Regions from separate parts of the Homo sapiens genome. Here regions 1 and 3 are each linked to region 2. The links are contacts of gene promoters, found by promoter capture Hi-C in blood cells and fetal thymus (Javierre and others, 2016). All regions are on one chromosome and are shown on one strand. The core of a region is centred on a gene start or on the middle of the fragment in contact, and the rest is flanking DNA. Distances in the headings are between cores, read along the strand shown.

What was found. Contacts are between HindIII fragments. The CHiCAGO score rates a contact against its expected background, and 5 or more counts as called.
Region 1: the fragment with the promoter of SLC12A7 here is called in contact with the fragment with the promoter of SLC6A3 in region 2 in 1 of 17 cell types (monocytes); the score reaches 5.6 in monocytes.
Region 3: a fragment that was not itself captured here is called in contact with the fragment with the promoter of SLC6A3 in region 2 in 5 of 17 cell types (non-activated CD4 T cells, naive CD4 T cells, activated CD4 T cells and 2 more); the score reaches 7.1 in non-activated CD4 T cells.

What each region holds. Positions count from the first base shown.
Region 1 is chr5:1,110,768-1,115,085 of GRCh38, forward strand. SLC12A7 (solute carrier family 12 member 7) reads right to left here and starts at 1,296. Exons shown (of 24, transcript NM_006598.3): 1 at 1,101-1,296. The coding sequence starts at 1,224. The HindIII fragment of the contact is 43,087 bases long and covers 1-4,318 here.
Region 2 is chr5:1,443,698-1,448,145 of GRCh38, forward strand. SLC6A3 (solute carrier family 6 member 3) reads right to left here and starts at 1,743. Exons shown (of 15, transcript NM_001044.5): 1 at 1,651-1,743. RefSeq lists an enhancer at 2,381-2,880. The HindIII fragment of the contact is 13,596 bases long and covers 1-4,448 here.
Region 3 is chr5:1,152,484-1,156,755 of GRCh38, forward strand. It overlaps a transcript of SLC12A7 not described here. Among named protein-coding and RNA genes, the nearest start is that of TERLR1, 24 kb to the right of the region's middle. RefSeq lists an enhancer at 1-356. The HindIII fragment of the contact is 8,944 bases long and covers 1-4,272 here.

The sequences.
Region 1 (4,318 bases), core at 46-2,545, 330 kb before region 2:
AGATCTGGGCTGGCCTCTGTGCAGAGGAAGCTGAGACCACTCTTCGCCCGCCACGGGGACCCTGATGACGCACCCCAGGCCACCAGGCCACTGCCTTCACGGTGGGTCCCCACCCGTGTCTCCGGGTTCCTAAACTGCCTGGAGGGGATGTCTGGCCTTTCCTGCCCGGGATGGTGGGTTAGGAAGGATCTGGGGTCTGGCACCGGACTTGTCCCTGGACAGACCTCACCTTCCTTCCACTGCCAGGGAGCAGGGAGGCTGCCACCCACTGCATGAGACCCGGGCACATGCGGGCACTGCCAGCACGCGGGGTGGGGGCTGGACTGAGTCCGGACACCTTCTCAGAGACTCCGGATGGAAGGGCCTAAGAGCCTCCGGTTTCTAGAGGGGGCTGAGATCCGGGGAGTAACTGGGATTTGGAGCCAGGATGGAGGGAACAGGGCTGGGGGATTCTCTCCCCAGCCCCGTCCCCACCCCCTAGAGAAAGTGAAAGTGCTAGAAACCTCCAGATTCCCGGAACGGGGGACGGGAACACGGAGGACGCGGCCTGAGCAAGGCCCCGGTGGCTGCCCCCTCCCCAGCCAGGGCGCAGTCCTTCCTGTTCCGCCTCTGGGGGGTGGGCGGCTCCTCCAGGGTCAGGCGGGGGCAGGACGGGCCGGCCCGGGCTAGTGTTACCGGACGGCCGCGGCGCAGGGGAAGGGAGAGCGCGGGGGACGCAGGACGCCCCGGCTCCCGAACCGCCCGGGTCTCCACCGCCACCCCTGTCCCACTAGGGACCACCCAGGGGCCCGGGCTCCCTCCGGAGGCGCGCTCCAGCCCCTCCCCGTTTCCATGGCTACCAGCAGCGGCGTCCACACCTCTGCCCCCGGTCCCACCCGAGCTGACCGTACCGGGAGCCCTGGCAGGGCCCCTCGCCCCCTAGCGCTGCCACTAACGTGGGGTGGGGGCCCTCGTGGGGGACCGAGAACAGGCGGTGGGGGCGCGGGAAGGGGCGCCTCCTGTACCCCCGGCCCCGCCGCCCGCCTCCGCTCCCGGATGCCGGGCCCAGACCCGCGCTCGGGGCGCTCGGCCTTTGTCCGGCCAGGTGCGGCCGCGCTCACCCGGGCTGGGGCGCTCGGGCTCGGGGCCCTCGGGGGTGCCCGGAGCCTCCGTCCGCTCGGCAGTCTCGTCCCCGCCGCCGTCGGCGTGAGCCTCCACGGGCACCACGGTGAAGTTGGTGGGCATGGCCGCCTGCAGCCGACAGTCCCCGTCCCGGCCCGGCCCGCGCTGCGCCGCTCCCGCCGACGCCACGGGACTTGGAGGCAGGGGCGGGGTCCGACCGAGCCGCCCCGCCCCGCCCGGGCCACGTGACTTCACCTGCTTGCCCCGCGGCCCCACGAAAAGTTGGCCCGCGGCGACTTCCTGCAGGGACCCCAACCCAGGCTGCGTCTGTCTGACCGCCGCGACCCGGGACGCGGGGCTTTCGCTGCCTGCGCTCCCGACCATCGCAGAGCCCGCGAATCCCCGCTCAGTCTCCTGCACCCCCTCCTGCTCCAGCCCCCTGCCCCTCCTGCTGGAACTCCCCGCCCTCCCCGCCCTCCCCGGCCCCCTCCCCGCCTCCCCTCTTGTCCCCTTCCCCGACCCCCCACTCCTGCTCCAGCCCCCTGCCCCTCCTGCACGCCCTTCTGCTGGAACCCCTCACCCCTCCTGCACCCCCCCACCCTTCCTGCACCCCCTCCTGCTGGGCCCCCCTGCCCCTATGAACCCCCTCCTGCTGGAACCCCTGCCCTTTCTGCACCCCCTCCTGCTGGGCCCCTCCTCCTTCTGCGCCCCCTCCCGCACCCCCTCCTGTTTGCCCCCCATTTCCTGCTCCAGCCCCCTACCCCTCCTTCTTCCCCCTCCTGTTCCCCCCTGCCATCCTCCAGCACCCACCTCCCACACAGTCCGCCCACCCACTCCAGGCTGTCAACACCCGCTCAGACCCTGGGCTCCTAGCCTGGCTCCTGGCTAGCCCAACCTGGCTGCAAAGGCAACTCCAGTGGAAGGAGCCTTGGATAGCCTGGGGGTGGGGTACTCCGGAGCTTGGTCCAGCTCCAGTTTAGGGACCTAACCCAGTAGAGGGAGTCCCCCCCCCCACCCATGACAAATACCACCCACGAAGACCCCAGTCTCCTCCACACCTGCCCCAGGAGTGCCCCGCGGCCCCTGCCCTAGAACCCTCCCTTCCCTCCTTGGGAAATGTTCCAGAAGCTCACAGGGTGATGCAGGGAAGGTGGAGTTCCAGAACCCACCAGGCAGACACCAGGATACCACCGGCCAGCACCTGGCACATTTCTCAACAAATGACTCATGAAAAACGGAACAATCAGATGTCCGTCAATGGGGAATTGGGCTAAAATGCTATGGCACACAGGTGCAATGAGTCAGCCTTTATTCCTAATCACCCACAACTGCTGTACGACAACAAAGCAGAAACACAGGTGGTGTGGGCAAACACGGCCACAGCCTCTTGTCACGTGGAAAATGGGTATGGCCTGGCCATGTTTTAGCCGCTTGCCTGTCTAATCCTAAAAGGCAGCTGGAGGGGAGTGATGGCCTCCGGGCTGTGGGATCACCGGGCTCTGTGGGTTCAAGGAACGCAAGCCCAACCTCTCCAGCCATTTCCAGTAAAGCCAGTCATGCCCTGGGGTGGCCTAGGGTTCTACCCCTTTGCCCCATGGACTCTTCTGGGCAGAAGCTGTAGGCCTGGGACCCTCCTGGAACGTCGCCCATCCAGCACCAGCCCTTGCAGAGGTGGGGGTTCCTCTGGCCTGGGTGTCTGGAGCTGTGCCTGCTCCACACTCTCACCCCACCTCCCACCAAAGGGAGCTCAGGGCTGTGGATGGTGCTAGGTCAGCTGCCTCCCTGGGTCAGTGGGTTGGAAGGTAGGAAACCATCACCTCCCCAGAAGATAAAATAGTTCCCAGGCATCCTTATGAGGAGGGCTGGCTTTGCTAAAAAGATCCAGGGGGTGGGAACAGAAGTGCCCAATGGGGTCAATTATAGGGTTCACACTTAGGGTGCTGGGTAAACCCTCTCCTCAGTCACCCCAGCAGGGGCTTCTGTACATTCAACCCTGGTTGCCACCCAGCGCTATTCCCGAGGGTTGGACAGAGCTCAGGGTGGGCACGAGGCCTTCCCAAGTGATGCCAGCAGGAGCAACAGATGTGCAGGGCTCCCGTCGCACATCCAAGCTCTGCTTCACACCCCAGGACCCCAGGGCCGGCTGCCCGCCATGTGCTGGCTGTGGACCTTCAGAGGAGCTGGTTTGGAGGGTCTGTGGCCAGGGCCAGCTCCCGGACTCAGGACTCATCAGCTTCATTTTACAGAGGAGGAAACTGAGGCCCAGGAGTTTAGGGTCCTGTGGCAGCTCCGAGGGTGGTCTTCTCTGTGATTACAAAATCTTGACTAGGACCAGGGGCCATGGCTGAAGCACCTGGGTGGGTGCCCAGCCCTGCCAGGCAGAAGGCAGGTGGCTTCTCTTGTTTAAATCTTAGATCTTACTTGTGGGAGACCTCGGGTGGGGGGTGAGGTCTGCTGCCTTTTGCATTCTAATCAGGTGAGTCACGACAGGGATCAGCACCCTGTAAGCACCTGCGGGTCAAGACAGAGACCCTTGCCGGAGCCCAGAAGCCGCTGCAGGCCCCTCCCATCCCATCAGTAGCCCATCCCTAGGGGTCTGGTGGCCCCTCCCTTCGCTCTGTGGGTTTCCGTGTCCACGTATATCCTCCCACACGGCAGCCTGGGGTTAAATGTGCGTTGTGTGACTTTCAGTGCTCTCTTCCTACCCACCTCCATCCCTCTGTCCTTTTCTGTACCCGGCACCTGTTGTAGGAAGTGGCCCTCGGACACGTGGAGGTACCCGAGGCCTGGGTTGGAGCTGCATCTTTCGGTGCAGGCCTCTGCGTCTCCTGGAAGTGGGCACCTGGAGCCAGGGGACTGCTGGGATCCGGGTCCAGTCCCCTGGCAAGGCCGGGGGCTCGCAGAGGGAGCCACGCACTGTCTGGTGGTAGCTCCTCCGTCCGCAGTCGTTGGTGCTTGATGTCTGAATCGACAGATTCATGGAGCAAAATGGTGATTTTCCAGTGCGTGGTGGCTTCGTCATGAATTCACTGGAGGGAGAGGCTCATCTTGTCCGTCTGGCCATCTGGATAATGGTGCCCACAGGAAAGGCAGGGCAAGGGTGCCTCTCCCTCATTTGTCAGTTTCCACAACGGTGAATTGGTTCCCGACAATCTCCCAAGTATATTTGTACATCGCTGATGAAACACATTGGTGGGTCTCAGTCGATCACCATTAG
Region 2 (4,448 bases), core at 493-2,992:
AGGTCTCGCTCTGTCACCCAGGATGGAATACAGTTGTGATTACAACTCACTGCCTCAACCTCCTAGGTTCAAGTGATCCTTGCACCTCAGCCTCCTGAGCAGCTGAGACTACAGGTGTGCACCACAGCACCGGCTAAGTTATTTTTGTGTGTGTTTTTTTGTTGTTGTTGTTGTTTTTTTGTAGAGACAGGGTCTGACTATTGTTGCCAAGGCTGGTTTTGAACTCCTGGTCTCAAGCGATCCTCCTGCCTCAGCCTCCCAAAGTGCTGAGATGACAGGCATGAGCCACCAAGCCTGGGCTTGTATTGTTTATACTCAGTAATAAAGAGCAAAATTTATATAAGCAAAATCAGCCACTGTAAAGAGAGTTTAGACATAACCATCACAACTGCTTCCTCAAAAAGTGTCTGTACAAGCCACATCCACCTAGGGCAGGTGGCACCACCCCGCGTGAGAGAGCTGGGCGGAGGATGGACAGGGCTTCATCGCGGGAACTAGCTCCTGGGCCAGCAGGGTAACCCGGGAAATCCTGTCCAAACGGCTACATAAACCCCCCTGCAACGCTGAGCAGGAGAGCAGGAGCGTCTACACCGCCCCAGCCAGGGCGACTTCTGTCATTTGGATCCAGCAGCAGCGTGTTTCAGTCGAGCGCACGCACACACAGACACACAGACACACACAGACTCACAAACACACATACACACTCACACACACACAGGCGAGCACATACACTTACACACATACACACTCACACTCACACAGGTGCGCACACACACACAACGACTGAAGCAGGTCGCAGGTGGAGGCTCTAACAGGCAACTTTCCCTGCATCCAAGTTTGCACAAAACCTCACCCATGAGCTATCACGAGCTATGCCACGCACCCGGTGACAACCTCAACCGGCACGACCCCTCCGGTGGGTAAAACACCCGACGAAGGGGTTCCGCGGCGCGAGCAGGAGGCCGCGTTGGGAGAGGGCGTCGGGTGCGGAGCTCGCGAGTCTCCGGCAAGCCGCCGCCGCCCTGGGGCCACCTGACCCCGCTCCTGAACGCGGGGCCTCAGAGGCGAGTTTTGGGTCTACACAGCAAAATGTGGCCCGTTAGAAAGCGTCCTTCCTCACCGCGCCCAGAACAAGAAGCGGCGCTGCCTGGCGAGTCCTCGCCCGGCCTCCCCGCCCTGCCCAGAGCACCAGCGCGCAGCCCGCGCCCGCCACCACCCCCAACACAGACAAAGCCCCCGCGAGATGGAGCGGCGGTGTACAAAACCCACTCCGATCGGATCTGGGATGCGCCGCACCCCTAGTAGGGTTAAGTTCCACGAGAAGAAACCAGGACCCCCGAGTCACAGCCATAGACACCCACGCGTCCCCTAAGCCGGTGACTGCACCAGGTGCCCACCCGGTTCTGAGCCTGGAGCGGGGCCAGGGGCAGCCCTGCACCCTCCTCGCGCCTCGGACGGCCTCAGGGTCCCATGTGGCGCTATCGGGGGGCGCTCGGCACCCGCGACTGTTGGCGACTTTGGAGACGGCGCGGTCTGCGGGACGCGGGGACCCCAGACTGTGCCCGGTCCCCGGCCCCCGCCCCTGCGCCCCACTTCGGGGTCTGCGGAAGGAGCGGGGCGCCCCGATGCCGCGAGCGACGCTGGCCTCACCTGGCCGCCCGGGCCTGGGCTTTGCACGCGAGTCCTGGCGCCGAGAGCGTTCCGCGAAGCCTCCCCTCCCGCTCCGCAGCGCTGGGCGGTCTCAGCCTCGGCCTCGGGCTCTTATCCAGTAGACAGGGTCCGCCCCGCCCCGCCCTCCCGCCGACGGGGTCGCCCTCGCGTCCTGGCTCCTCCTCCTCACCTCCCCGGGCCGCGCCCCCGCCCCCGCCTCCCGGACGCAGATGGCTGGGAGCAAGCGGCGGCCACGGCTCCACTGTCCTGCGCGTCCCGGAGCCTCGGACACGGGGTGCGGGGGCCTGGGGGTCCGAGACGTCGCGGATCTAGACGGGCGCCTTCCACGCGGGAACTGTCTGGGCCGCCCTGCGCCCTCGCCCGCACCCCTGGGGGCTGCCCCGGGCACCCGCTATCTTCGGACGCCCAGGGCTGGCGGCTCCCAGCTGGACGGGGAGGGAGCCGAGCGGCTGCGCGCGGGGAACTGCTGGGACCCCGTCGGGCCGACCCTTCCCTCCCTCCCCATCAGGGGCCCCTACGGTGGCCCCGCGCTCTGGGGACCACGTCCCTCCCACCCCGCCGCTCCACGCTCTGACCAGCGGGCTCGGGACCCCGCCGAGGACTCTGCACGCTTCCCGGCGTGCGGGCTGCGGAGACGCGGGTCCTTCCGTGGCCTTGGGGTCTCCGCGACCTCGAGGCGACCGAGGTCCCCTAGGCCTAGTCCCCGCCTTGCCGGCATCTAGTGCGCCTGCATCGGAACCGAGGGGCCCGCCTCGCACTCGCCTAAGAAAACCATTTCCCGGGACGGGCCTGGAAAGCCCTGGCGGTTGGTATCCGGCTCCAGGGCCGAATGGACTCCGAGGCTTTCCTTCCGAGATGCCCGGGCGGGATTTCTTCCATTCAGCGCGCGGAGGAATGGAGCCCCCAGGCCGCCAAGGCCCAGGATGTCCAGGTCCTTAGAAGGCACCGAGGTGAGTGGCCGCGCCCAGCTCTGTGCGTCGCCCCTAGGGTCGCCCGAACCCCGGCGTTCCTCCCCGTGTACCCTCGATGCTCCCGTGAGCACCCTGCCCTGGGCGTCCAGGCGAGCCCTGGGGCTCTCCAGCCATTCCAGCCTGCAGCCCGCGCTCAGCAGTGAGGGAGGCAGGGACCCTTGGTGCCTGACTCCGCAGTACCCGCCCGCAGCGCGGTGCCCCACCCCCTGCGCCCGCCCCGCACTCCCCGCACACCACCACTCCCCTCCCCGCCCCCCGCTCCCCCGCTCCCCGGCTCCGGGGCTGGCACCCAGGCAGAAGGCACTCAGGGCTGTGACTTCACGCTGAGTTGGAATCAAGTGGGAGCCTAGTGACCCCCTGGGGCTGCCATGACAAAAAACTCCACAGCCTGGGGGCTCACACAGAAGCCTTCAGTTCTAACGGTTCCGGTGTCCCGAGGCCAAGGCCTGGCCGACTCTGTGTCTGGTGAGGGCCGCTTCGGGGTTGCAGACAGTTCTCTCCCTGTATCTCCCCACGCTAGGGGCTGGGGAGAGCTCTCCGGGGTCTGTTTTATGAGGGCACTGGTCCCATTCCTCAGGGTGGAGCCCTCCTGGCCTGACCACCTGAAGGCCTCCTGACACCACCTCCCATCAGGGGTGGGACTTCATCGCCAGGGAGGTGAGGGGACTTCAGGAGAGGGGGATGTGCCACCTCGAAGCTGTAGTGTGTCAGTGGCTGCCACAGAAGGGATCTCTCTACCCCTATTATCTCCATGGCACAGGTTTCAATAAAAAGGAGTGAGCCAGGGCTTGGCCCCAGAGCAGCAGGGTTGAGGAAACAGTCTCCCAAGGAAAAGACTTTGCAGGTGACTAAGGGAGGCTGTTAAATAAAACACACAGAGAGAATGGATGTTCAGGTATATTAAAAATACACAGGCCAGGAGTGAGGGCTCACGCTTGTAATCCCAGCACTCTGGGAGGCCGAGGAAGGAGGATCTCTTGAGGCCAGGAGTTTGAGACCAGCCTGGGCCACATGGCAAAACCCTGACTTTGAAAAAAAAAATTAGCCAGGCATGGTGGCCCACACCTGTAGTCCCAGCTACTGGGGAGGCAGAGGTGGGAGAATAGCTTGAAGCTGGGAGGTGGAGGTTGTAGTGAGCTGAGATTGCGCCATGGGCCACAGGATGAGACCCTGTCTCGAAACAAAACAACACACAGGCAAACAGCGTTTGGGAAGGGATTGCAAGCGCTGCAGGAGCGCAGAATTGTGACCCAAAGCTAACAGGGTACAGGCAGGAAGGTGCAGGGACTAGAGGTCACACAGATCCAGGCAGCCACATCCTTACTGACCAGTAGCACACAGAGAATGCACCTGCCACACTCAGGAGGGGCCACTGAGTGATCACACGCATGTAACCTGCACTCTGCCAAGACAAAGAGCATTCCTCCACCCCTGCCTCAACCCCGACTTCCAACCACATGAATTAGGATAAAGGAGCTTTGGGTGCTCTAAGAACAAACTAACTGCGGGAGTTGGGCTCATGGATGACACAGAGAAAGCGCAGCTGCCAGACCCATGGGTCTCCATCCTCCCACAACAGGAATGCTCCGTGAACTGTGCAGGTAGAAGCAGTGTGGTTATGAGCTGATCAGACCTGATCAAACGGCCGACCTTTGCATGCTTGGAACTTTGCCCTAAATGCCAAGTCGGCTTTATTATCATTGTGGTTGCTGCTATGGCTGCTGTGGGCTCAGGGCGTTGGGTGCAGGCAGGTGGAGCCCCCCTGCCTCTGCACTTCCTGCCCATGCTCGGCACCTCTCCCCACTG
Region 3 (4,272 bases), core at 1,443-3,942, 290 kb before region 2:
AGAGTCCCAATGGCATGTTTACATCCTGTGGCAGAGAGAAGGGACCCATCCCCTAGAGAAGGGAGACCTCCCTGGTAAGGGAGATCCCCCAAGCTAGAGAAGGGAGTCCCCCAAGCTAGAGAAGGGAGACCCCCAAGCTAGAGAACGGAGACCCCCAAGCTAGAGAAGGGCGACTCCCTTACAGAACGGAGACGCCCCCCGGACCATGCACTGCCTCAGCACCGACACACCCCAGCCATTCTCAGCAAAGTCAACTGAGTACAAAGTCGGTGTGGATTCCTGCATTGAAAACTGAGGGATGACCGACACGGGGGAGGCCTGCGGGGATTACTGACTTATCCCTGGGGCCTGTGAGCAGAGAGGAGCTGTCTCTGGAGGATTAGAAAGTTCATCTGATCACCAGGCCACACATCTGCAAGGGAAGGTCAGCCCAGGACAAATGGCCCGCCTGGCATGCAATTCCTGTGGCGCCCAACGCATGCCAATAAAATGTTTGTTTGCTTTTTTAAACTTGGTTTACATTGTCTTAATGGCACTGTTAAATAATAGGTCTTCTGTTCATATGTAGCGGGCACGACACAAAATCATTCAGCTGATGGTTGGCTGGAGCCATCCTCCTCCAACCCCCACAGGACTGGAGCCCAGCTGTCCACGGCAGCCAGGCAGCCGCATGGCCGTGGGCACAGGGTCTCTACCCCCGGGTGCTGACGTGGGAGGAGGGACGGGCTTGCCCAGTCCCTGGGCGGTCCAGCCCAGCCTCCAAGCACCCACCCCAAAGAGGAGATGAGGTGGGTGGGGGAATGCTAGGCCTGAACGGGGTCTCCCACCTGCTCCATCCAGGATTAAGGCAACACCTCCCTCCATGCCCACATGAATGTGCAAACATTCACAGCCTGAAGCAGGAAGGACAGATGAGTTCAGACCTTCACCTGCCCCCACACGCTTTCCTCAGGGGCCTCTGGGGGGGTCCATGGGCCAGTGTGCTGGGCACCCGGAGGAGAGGCCAAGGCTCCCTAGAAAGGAGAATGAGGCGTGGAGGAGACCAGTAGGGTCGGCCCGACTCAGGACCCTGTCCATGCCTGGGGTGCTGGCCCTGGCACTACAGAGCCAAGGAACAGCCCATGGGGAAGCCCCTGTTGCCACAAGCCGTGTTGTCAAACCATTTCCCCCGGAACAAACAAGGCCTGAGGACGCCCGAGAACCCTGCAGCCCTGACTTGGCGCTCTAGTTCACACTAACCGGCGACCTGCAGAATCACCAGCTCCTTTGTTGGCCTCCACAGAGAAAATCAAGAGGAACGTGCACCCTGGTGAGCAGGCTGACTTCAGAACTAGAGAGAAAACTTTGTGTGCATCTGGGGAGTGCCACACAGCAGCTGTTTGAAGACAGGGTCTTCCTTTAGGGAGGAGACCACAGCATCCTGTATCAGACATTGCAGGGCATGACCCTGGAGTCCAAGAAATGACTCCAGGCTCAGGAGAAGGACAGGGCTGGACCCGAGAGCCACAGCTGCCACCTAGAAGGGCAGGTGTCTCGTCCATCTCATCTCCACACGCATGTGTTCCCAACCCTAACCCTAACCGAGAATAACAAGTGTCCCATCCTTTTCATCTCCACACGCATGTGTTCCTGACGCTAACCCTAACCCACAGGAACAAGTGTCCCGTCCACCTCATCTCCACAGGCTTGTGTCCCTAACCCTAACCCTAACCCCTAACCCCTAATCCCAACCCTAACCCTAACCTTGTCTCCAAAGCGTGTGTGTCCACAACCTATCTAGGGCACTGAGCCGAATCCAACTGAGACACAGACCACAGCTCCCACCACACCCCTGTACCAATCCATGCAGTCCTGGACAACTGGTGTCCGCAACACACACACACACACACACACACACACACACACACAGAGACACATACAATGCACCACACACATCTAGACACAGACACACACTACACATAATATAGACACACACACCTCATATGCCATACACACACATATACACACATCACACTATAGACATATACACATACCACACAGCACACACATAGACACACACACGGACACACACAGGCGTGGACACTCACATGGCTCCCGGCAGTGCTGCAGGAGGTCAGCACAGAGACGTGCTGAGGAGCCTGAGATGCTCGCTCCTCTGGGCCATCGCGTGTAAAGGCTGCCCTCGCTGTGGACTCTCACATGTGTGACATACATGAACAGGCGAAACGGACACGCACGGCCCCCACACACGTGAGCTGGGTCCCCCAGGGCCCGTCGGAGCCCTTCTGCCTGGGACCTGCCTCATCCCCGGCCCCTCACAGGGCAAGACATCGCAGTAACCGCAGGTCTTCAGAGCAGCCTACCCTGGCCATGCCAGGCGGGAACAGCAGATGGACCCTCGGGGCACCCAGGTCCCACGAGAGAGTGACAGCTCAGGGACATCTGTCCTCGGGGCCCACGAGCTTTAAGCCCAAGCCAGGGTCCAGGCCTGGTGGCCTCTGTGTGGCCAAGGCTGGCGGGGGGCACTCCATGGTCCCAGGCAGGGCCCTCCTCAGCCCACTGGAAGCGGGCTTGGCTCTGGGTCCTCTGCCTCCCCCCGCCCCCGCCCCGCCCTCCCAGGCCCCTCGCCCACCTCAGGCTTCGGGACCCCCGTGTGAGCAGCGAGTGGTCAGGAGGACACGGTTCTGCTCCCCGCAGGGACGAACCCCCACTGCTTCCCAGATCTGCCGGGCCAGACCCCTGCCACCCTCCCGCGCTATAAATCATCAGATCACAGCCCCGCCCAAGGCCTCAGGGACCCGCCGTGGTCCCGAGAGAGGCAGCCCTGGACGAGAACAGGGCCCCTTTTCTGCCTGGTCCCCGCCCTCCCCGCGAAGTGACCCCGTCTGGACTCTGCAGCCGCGGGAACAGCGAGGTCAGAGGGCGCCCCGGGAGCTGTCGGCCCATCCCCGCGGCCCCTGCCCCGGCTCGGTGTCACCTGCAGGCCCCGGACAGGGCGGGATCCCCGCAGGGAACTGCCCCAGGTCCCCGGAGCGCGCGGCGGGCGGCAGGGGCGGGGCTCCGCTGGGCTGGGGGGACCCCAGGCAGGGACCGACCCCCGGGCTGACCGGGAGCCCCACCCCCGCCGGCCCGCCAGGCCGCCGCCGCCCACCTGCGCCCCTCGAGGGGACCGGCACCTGCGCGCACCTACCGTAGCGGCCGGGCTCGCGGCAGTAGAGCAGAATGGGAAGCGGGTCCTCGTCAGGCGGCTCGGGCGCGGCTGCGGGGTCCAGGCCGGGGTCGGGGGCCCGGCGGGGGCTCGGGGTGGGGCGCTGGCTGTCGCCTTCCTTGGCCCCGGGCCCCGCACCCCCCGCCGCGGGGGTCACCACGAAGCGCTGGGACATGGTGTCCGCGACGGCTGCGGGGAGCGGGGACCTGAGCGCGGGGAGGGCGGGGCCGGCGGGGCGGGCGCGGGAGGCCGGGAGGAAGGGAGGGAGGCCGGGGGGGAGAGAGGGACCGAGCGCACCGCCGGGGATGGGGCCGCGCGGCGCGGGGAGGGGCCGGGAGGGCGAGGCGGACTCCGGCTGACACCTCGGCAGCGGTCCCTGCCCGCGGGGGGACCACGGCCTCGGCCCCCGAAGAACGAAGAGCGGCCTCGGCTCTCGCTGCGTGACCTTGGAGACGCCCCAGCCGGGCGACCGGGTCAGCGCGCGGTGCAGAAGCCTGAGGGGAGGAACAGACCTCGCTCTGCGCCGCCTGGAACCGACGACGACCAACCCTGGCAGCAACGCTGCAGCCCGCGGTCTCTGGCGACGCCCACCGAGGGCCGGGACCAGGGGGCCGGTGAGGGTGGAGGTCTCGCTGGCCTTTGGGTCCGTGGGGAGGGGCGCCCTGATCTGGGGCCTCCACCTCCCCCATCCCCAGACTCCAGCCCTTGGCCAAGCAGGGTTCAGCCGTGCCTGCGTGCGAGGCAGAGGCCTCCTCCTGGGACTTCCACCTGGGGAGAAAGGCCTCCGGGGCAGCCAGGGTGGAAGGCGGAGGCCAGCCTGGCTGCGGAGGCGCTGGGAGCCGCGGACCCTAGAAGTCTTGGGAGACCCCGCCTGCTCTTCAGGGGTTCCTGCAACCACCGCAGCTGCACAAATTCTGCAACTGGCTCTTTCCTCCCCTCTAATGATGCTGTTGCCACCACCTTGCGTGGAAGTATTGAGCACTTTACAATATGTATTCACAGATTCAATAAATATTTATGAATGCTAACCTGTGCCGGGCCCTGCAGGTGACAGAAGGGAACCC